Regions from separate parts of the Homo sapiens genome. Here region 1 is linked to region 2. Evidence: promoter capture Hi-C in human tissues and cell types (Jung and others, 2019). All regions are on one chromosome and are shown on one strand. The core of a region is centred on a gene start or on the middle of the fragment in contact, and the rest is flanking DNA. Distances in the headings are between cores, read along the strand shown.

Evidence for each region. The method cuts DNA at HindIII sites, captures the fragments that hold promoters and counts their contacts. A contact is called where the count stands out against the background at its distance.
Region 1: a contact is called between a fragment that was not itself captured here and the fragment with the promoter of RFX4 in region 2, in 1 of the 25 tissues and cell types used here (mesendoderm cells).

Annotation. Positions count from the first base shown.
Region 1 is chr12:106,384,674-106,388,643 of GRCh38, reverse strand. All of the region lies in intron 9 of POLR3B (RNA polymerase III subunit B), which reads right to left. Among named protein-coding and RNA genes, the nearest start is that of POLR3B, 29 kb to the right of the region's middle. The HindIII fragment of the contact is 3,960 bases long and covers 1-3,889 here.
Region 2 is chr12:106,581,623-106,585,644 of GRCh38, reverse strand. It overlaps RFX4 (regulatory factor X4), which reads right to left and starts at 2,641. Exons shown (of 18, transcript NM_213594.3): 1 at 2,282-2,641. The coding sequence starts at 2,324. All of the region lies in intron 1 of LOC100287944 (a long non-coding RNA gene), which reads left to right. RefSeq lists enhancers at 1,607-2,191, 3,680-4,022. The HindIII fragment of the contact is 9,839 bases long and covers 1-4,022 here.

The sequences.
Region 1 (3,970 bases), core at 660-3,159, 200 kb after region 2:
CTGTTTCTCTTTAAAGAAGATAAATTTCAGCCAGGCACATTGGCTCACGCCTGTAATCCCAGCACTTTGGGAGGCTAAGGTGGGCAGATCACCAGGTCAGGAGATCAAGACCATCCTGGCCAACATGGAGAAACCCCGTCTCTACTAAAGATACAAAAATTAGCTGGGCGTGGTGGTGCATGCCTGTAATCCCAGCTACTTGGGAGGCTGAGGCAGAAGAATCGCTTGAACCAGGGAGTTGGAGGTTGCAGTGGGCTGAGATCGCGCCACTGCACTCTAGCCTGGTGACAGAGCAAGACTCCATCTCAAAAAAAAAAAAGATAAATTTCCATATAAGTTAGTTTCCAGGAAACACTGCCCAGCACCCTTGAAATTTGATTCTCTTTTCCACAAAAACTTTCAAACTACAGATGCCATCATAAGTGCAGGCAGCATACTTGGGAATACAAAATGTAAAGTGGGGAAGATTCATGGGCAGGAGAACCTTTGTAGTGATCCAAGTCCATAAATAAGGCTGATCTATGTCTTAAAAGCTTTCTCCATCATATTCAGACTCAGCATGGAATCTGGAAACCCTGCTGTTCCTGTCACTTTCAGCCAATTGTTGGTTATAATCAACAACCATCAAGTCCTAATGACTGTCAAGGTCTGTGTTAGGGCCACACAACACTCAAAGAGAAATGATGTGTCTTTTCTGGTATCCCCATTTGTTTTCCCGGGTTTCTGACCATAAAGACAACTAAGGAAAGAAAAAGGGCACTCCCCTTCCAGGACTTTTCAAAAAATACATGATCCTGTTTGCTCTTCACAGCAACTCTCTTAAAATTCTCACCTTAATAGATGAGTTATTCAAGACTTAAAGAGACTGGAAAATATGCCCAAGGTCACATAACTAATAAGTGCAGATGCTGGGATTCAACCTAAATCTGTCTGATTCTAAGATATCCAATACTCTATGCTGCCTCCCAGATGGAAAAGTCTAAATAGTGGTTATCAAACAAATTCCCATCAATTTATTAAAACATACCTATTGTGGGAGACCAATAAAAGTGACCATTTATGACCAAAATATTTAGCTCATTTATCCAAACTAAAAATTTTAAAATATTTACTGATTAGAATGTAGTGGATACGTTTCAGGAAAATAATTGGCAACATGCACCAAGTTTAAAAAAAAAGAAATTCCACTCTCAGGAATAAAGTCTTACAAAACAATCAGCAATGTGCACAAACAGGTATGTATAACAGTCATCCTAGGGTTGTGTTTAAGAGTAAAGCCTTGGGGAAAAAAATGACGCCTAAATGCCCCACTAGAGGAAAGTGGTTAAGTAAATTCCACCACAAGTATGCAACTTCTACACAACAGTCACTAAAAATAATGATGCAGATTCATAACAGGGAAAGCTATTCATAATGCACTGTTAAGTGAAAAAAATAAAAATGTATGTGTATATCACAAAAGCACAGGAAAACTGTCTGGAAAAATATATCCAAAAATGTAGATATACTTTTAAGTGGCTTTCTAAATTTAAATAATGCAAGGAATGTTTTTATAATCAGAAAGGGAGAAGTCTGAAACCACAACTACTGGTTACATAAATATGCATATTGTTAATTTACAGCCCTATTCTAAAAAGGATTTAAGTCAGCTGTGTGTATGTAAGCATATGCGTGTATAGATGTACAATATAAACATTAAACAAACTTGACAGAAGAAACTTTTTTCTTTTTTTTTTTGAGACAGAGTCTTGCTCTGTTGCCCAGGCTGCAGTGCAGTGGTGTGATCTTGGCTCACTGCATGCTCCGGCTTCCAGGTTCACGCCATTCTCCTGCCTCAGCCTCCTGAGTAGCTGGGACTACAGGCACCTGCCACCATGCCCAGCTAATTTTTTGTATTTTTAGTAAAGACGGGGTTTCACCGTGTTAGCCAGGGTGGTCTCCATCTCCTGACCTCGTGATCCGCCCACCTCGGCCTCCCAAAGTGCTGGGATTACAGGTGTGAGCCACCACGCCCAGCAAAACTGTCTTATTAAACTCATCACCGGGCCAAAAAACAGTACTTAATGTTTTCTGATTTTAATGTATGCATGAGTCTAGTCATGCATTTTCCATGAGTGATAGAAGATTATATGCATTATAATTAATTTATAATTTCTGGTAGAAAGAAAGAGTACTATGCATCTTCAAGTGTCTATAAAACTTTCTAAAAAAAAAAGTCCTTTGGATGCATGGGAACATACTGCCCTCTGCTGGAGATGTAATTCTACACCATTAGATAAAGTTTTCTTTTTTTTTTTTTTTGAGACGGAGTCTCCCTCTGTCACCCAGGCTGGAGTGCAGTGGTGCGATTTCGCCTCACTGCAACCTCTGCCTCCTGGGTTCAAGCAGTTCTCCTGCCTGAGCCTCCCAAGTAGCTGGGGCAGGCGTGAGCCACCATGCCCGGCTAGTTTTTGTATTTTTAGCAGAGATGGCTTCTCACCATGTTAGCCAGGCTGGTCTCAAACTCCTGACCTCAAGTGATCCACCCACCTTGGCCTCCCAAAGCGATGGGATTATAGGCATGAGCCACCGCGCCCAGCCCCGTTAGATAAAATTTTCTTTATTCATCAGTATGTACATAAAACACTGCATTGGGCACTGTGGGATCCCTACAAGAAAAGTCAAAATTACTTTTGTGCTTAAAAAATGCAAACCGTAAAGAAAGAAAAGAAAAAGTATATTTAAGAATTCTTCCTGGGCCCTCTGATATCATGGTACTGCTACTAAGACTATCATCATCATCATCCTGAAAAGAAAATGGCTCCATCTCATTTATAGAACTCAAAAGCACATTAGGCTACAATAAACAGTTTAAAATTTCCTAAAAGTTTCTTCACACAATTGCATTTAGAACATGGATGCTTCCTGAGTTAAAGAACCTGACTTGTCAATGTCCATTCAATACTTATGAATACTCTTACCAATACTCTCTCCCTAAATCCCAATCACCAGACTGATTTGAGGGCTACTTTCCTCCCTGACTCCTATACTCTGTCACCTGATTACAACTTTAACAGTAAAGACTCATTCCCTTCTTTCTTACTCCTCTGAGGCTTATACCCAAAATGCTTTTCCGTTTCAACGAACTTAGTTCAGCCTCAGAGGATCTCTTCCTTTGTTTTTTTTCTAATTTTGACTCAAAAATTATTTCCACTATCATAACTATTGAAACTGAATAAATACTATAAATTTCTAAAATTATCTGAAGCATCCAGTATCTCCTCAAATAATCTGAGCTCTTCATTTCAACTAAACTGGTTATCAAGATTCATTTTATACCTATATACAATCGGTTATCATTATCCAAGGTAGTTATGTTCTATAAAGTTGCTGAATTATACCAAATACTGAATAGTGAATACTGAACCATTGCTCCAGGAAAAATATAGGGCTAGGTTCCTGTGAGCCTATGGTCACAACATTTTCCTCAACTAATCAATACAGAACGTTATTTTCTGTGTGTTTCTTTTAAAAGATATTTAAGGCCAGGCGCTGTGGCTTACACCTAATCCCAGCACTTTGGGAGGCCAAGGCGGGAGGATCACACGGTCAAGAGTTCGAGACCAGCCTAGCCAACATGGTGAAACCCCATCTCTACCAAAAATACAAAAATTAGCTGGGCGTGGTGGAGGGCGCCTGAAATCGCAGCTACTTGGGAGGCTGAGGCAGGAGAATAGCTTGAAACTGGACGGGAAGTTGCATTAAGCTGAGATCACGCCATTCCACTCCAGCCTGGGTGAAAGAGCGAAACGCCATCTCAAAAAAAAAAAAAAAGACATTTAATATATATCGATTAGTTAACTTTGAAGTTAGCCAACAGCACTATAACTCATGCCTGAACAAAGCTTATCAAGCTTATCTAACACATATTTTCTCCAGAAGGCACATCACAGCCTGTTTGCCCTTTGGAACACCTCGACAGCACTTTAGC
Region 2 (4,022 bases), core at 1,392-3,891:
AAGCCAGGAGAAAAGACCCTTTACATAACAAGGGAAACTCAGAAGAAAGGCTAATTGGATTAAATTCTCTGGAAGGGAGGTGAGGGAAGGCTTCTGGACTGGACCACGCCGAGCCGCACTTCCCTTGTCGTCGGTTTTGCAAGTCGGAGTGAAATGTCACCTGGTGCGTCTAGTGTCATTTCTTCACACTGTCGTGTACCAAAACTTTTGATTTTGCGTTCAGGGTGGTGACCTAGGGATGTCTCGGATATACAAAAGGGAGAGAAGTGGATGGGGAAAGGATTTCATTTCAGAACGTCTCTGGAGTGTTTGCAGTTGAGGTGAAGAGGACCCGGTGCCCCCACGAGCACCAGTTGCATCGAGAACAGAAAACGCCACGAATCCACAGCCCCACAGTCCTCCCCAGAAGTACCGAGGGGCCTGGCCCTGTGGAGGAGGCAGCTAAAAGCCCCCCAGCAGGGCCACTGCAGGTTTGGGATGTAGGGAGACCCTATGTCCCTGCGTGGGCCGCTCGAAAATACTTGGCCACAAACTCTGCAGACATGCGTTTAAGTTTGTTAAGGATATTCATTTTTAATGTTAGGGTTCTCAGGAGGTGGTGAGGGCGCAGCGCTTGAGATGAAAAAATGGTGGAAAAGGCGCTTTTCTCTCTCTGGGCTCCCGCTTTACCGCCAGTAGAGACCTCAGCGGGGCCTGCCGTGTCCGGAGAGGCACGCAGGGCAGGCGACGCTTCTCCTTGCCTTCGTTTGTCATCGAGTATAGGAAGGAGAACTTCGGGGCTTAGCCTTTCCCCACTCCCTGGGGGCTCACACCCAGCCAGGGGAGTGCAATCAGGCGGGGCCTTGACTCTAGGAATCAGAGATCGACAACTACCCTAAAACACAGAATATCCCCCTGGCAAGAGCAGTCCGGTGTCCGGGCCACCAGGGCTGCAGCGGAAACCTGGAGAGGCCTTAAATATTTCTGCAGGGACCGAGGAAAGACCTTCTGGGGCAATGCCCCGATGACCCCAGCCCCCACCCCACTTCCATATCCAGCCTGCCTAGGGGTGGAGTTGGGGAGACATTCGTGCGGCATTTGTTTATTTGCTCAAGGAAAGGACGTGCATGCTCAGGGGACGGCCGGGGCTGGAAGGCACTTGTTGCTCCGCGCTGCAATGCTCAGCAGCTTATGCTTGCAGGCATTCTCTCAAACCTCGCCACGGCCCAGGCTGAGTCCACTGCCCTATTTCTGCCTCTCCCCAAACTCATCACCCTAAGAAATTCTGAGGCTGCAGGGGGCCAAAATGAAAATAGCCGGGTTGCAAGAATGAGCCTAGGGGAGGGGGTGAACTGTAAGAGAACTTCCACCTGCAAGGGACTTAGGGAGCGTTAACAGATCTAGAAGTGTGACGGCTCTTCAAAGGTGCTAGGAGTGGGAGGTGGCGAAAACTACTGGAGGAAGAACCGAGATACCGGGTGTTTTCGTTGTGAAAGATTCCTTGGCCTCCTTTTTTCGTTGTTAAGGACCGCCGCACCCCCAAAACTGACGCCCAGCAGCTCTTGAACTGCAGAGCAGTTTGCAGACCCCAACGCCGAGTTTAGCGGGCCAGTCTGCGTCCTGCCCTCCCTCCAGCAAGGTCACAGCTCCCTAGTGGAGCCCGGCGTTGGGTGCCCCTTCCTGGCAGAAAAGCTAAAAGCCCGACCCCACAGCCCAGGACTCCCACCTCCCGTTTCTGCGGATTCCCCCGGACCACCGGGTTCGCCGCCGCCACTCCCTCCAGCTGCGCGTCTCTACCAGCCGGAGCCTCGGTCCCCACCTCCCAGGCGCAGTGCGAAGCCGTCACCCTCCCCCGCCTCGGGGCGTTCCGCTCGGCTTCCCGGCCCTGGCCGCCAGACCCCGAGCGCACCGCTATTCCGAGGCCCCCATACCCTAGGAGGACCTGGGTCCGGGAGGGGGCGGTCGGCTGGCAAAGTTTCTGCAAGTGGCACCTCGAGCTCGCCGCGAGCCAGCGCATCTTTACGTAACTTTGTGTCCAGGGCAAGCGAAAGCGCGCTCCTTCGCGCGCGCGCACGCACACACACTCACACACGTACACAATCACACGCTTATACACATACTTCCACGCATCCAGTTACACACATCGCCTCGAATTGAAAACTTCTGCAAGCTCTGCGTTATTCTTTGGGGTTCCACTGTCAAGTTGACCCGTCTGAACTTTTCCCAACTTCTTTCTAAAGTTCCCCCTCTCCCTTCTCCTTCCCTCCCAATGTATCCCCCCAACCCCGCCAGTAGGACTAACCTGTGGAATCCATGTCGGGTTCCTCCAGTAACCCACAATGCATGCTCTTCCCATGGACAGCACAGGCGCCCCCCAAAAGTCCTGATGTTTGGGGATCCCCTGTGCTAGAGATGCCCAGGGAGGAAGGGAGGGAGGGAGGGAGAAGGGGAGAGAGAGAGACGCAGAAAGTGAGGGGGCACAAGGATAAAGGAGGAAAGGAAAAGAAAAGAAAAAGAAGAGGAAAGAAAAGAGAAAGAAGAAAAGAGGAGAGAGAGGGAGAGAAGGGAGCGAGCTCGGAGAAGGGGGAGAGAGAAAAAGCGAGCGAGCAAGGGGACACTCAGTAATCCAGCCGGGCAAAGCCAAACCCGTCAAAATGTTTGCGGATGTTTCATGGGAAAAAGCATCATTTTATAGGAGCCCCGATGGGAGCAATGTCATTGATAGGCCAGCCGGCCTGATGAATGGCCGCTCGTCAGATGGGGCCGTGGCGAGGCGCACTGTGAAGCCCATTGTGGGCCTGTTTTGAATAAGAAAAGCCGCCTCCGAAAAGGGGGGCTCAGAGCGACGCAATCCCAGCCCTCCGACTTCCCCCTTCTATTATAGCATTAGCAACGTTTTTCTTATTTAAAGTTCCAGAGGCCTTCTCCAGCCTTCGCCCGGCACTCATTATAGGCGAAATCAAAATTGGCTTAGATGTGGCCCCCTCCCCCTCCCGGCCCTTCCCCACCATCGGGCCCCGCGCCGTGCTGGCAGGCCGGGAGGGGGGCGCGGGCGGGGGGGGAGCCGCGGGGAACTCCTGGAGCCTGGGGAGTCGCCTGCGCTACCACGAGTGGGGCCCCACTCCCTTCCTTCTCTTGCGCCCCCACCCACCCCCCATTTTGGTCCTGGGTTAGATTTCGGGTGGTGGCCCTGAGAATGCGGGAGGGGGTATGTCTTGACCCCTTGCACGCGGATCCGCAGACACGCGTGGGGAGTGAAGCGAGCTTGAAGGGGAAAGGGTGGGGAAGGGGAACTGAATCCCTAAGACCCCATGCCCCAATATGAGCGTAACAAGGCCGCTAGGCGGGGAGGAGGTGAGTGGCTGGTTCGCCTCCTCCAGAACTTTCTGTCTTCCTCTGGGCCTGGGTCCTTCATCCTGTTTCTCTCCTTCCATCTCGCTGTCTCTCTCCGCCTGTCTCCCGGTGTCTGTTTCTAGCTCTCTGTCCCTCTCGTCCTCTGTGTCTCTGTCTCTGTCCATTTCTCCTTCCTTGGCTGCTAGTGTCTCTGTCCAGACCCTGCCTCCACTTCTCTTTGTCTCCCCCTAGGACTCTGCCCCTCTCTGTCTCTATCCCCCTCGGTCTCTCTGTACTGTCCCCCCTCCCCCGCCTCTTCCCGTAACTCTGTCAGTCTGTCTGTCTCTGTTCCTCCGCCCTCCCCCTGCCCTCCCCACCCCACCGCCGTCCCCCAGTCGGCCTCGAAGTTTGTGAGAAGCCCCGGCATCCAAGTGGGGACGCGGTTTTCCCAGGGACCCCCTCCTCGGCGGAGTTGAAAGTGCAGAAAGAGGGGGGCGAGGGCCGGGGGGTGCTGGAAGTGGAAGTGAGGGGGAGCAAGCTGCGTCTCCTGCGGGCCCCGATAAAGTGGCCGTTCGCGGGTCGGCCGCGCTGTGATTAGAATATGAATGGGGCCCGGCGGGCGGAAGAGAAAGGCGGATTACCCCGGGTGCTTTGACCATGGACAGAGGCAGAGCCGGCGGGCCGCGGCGGGGGCGGGGAAGCGCGGAGTC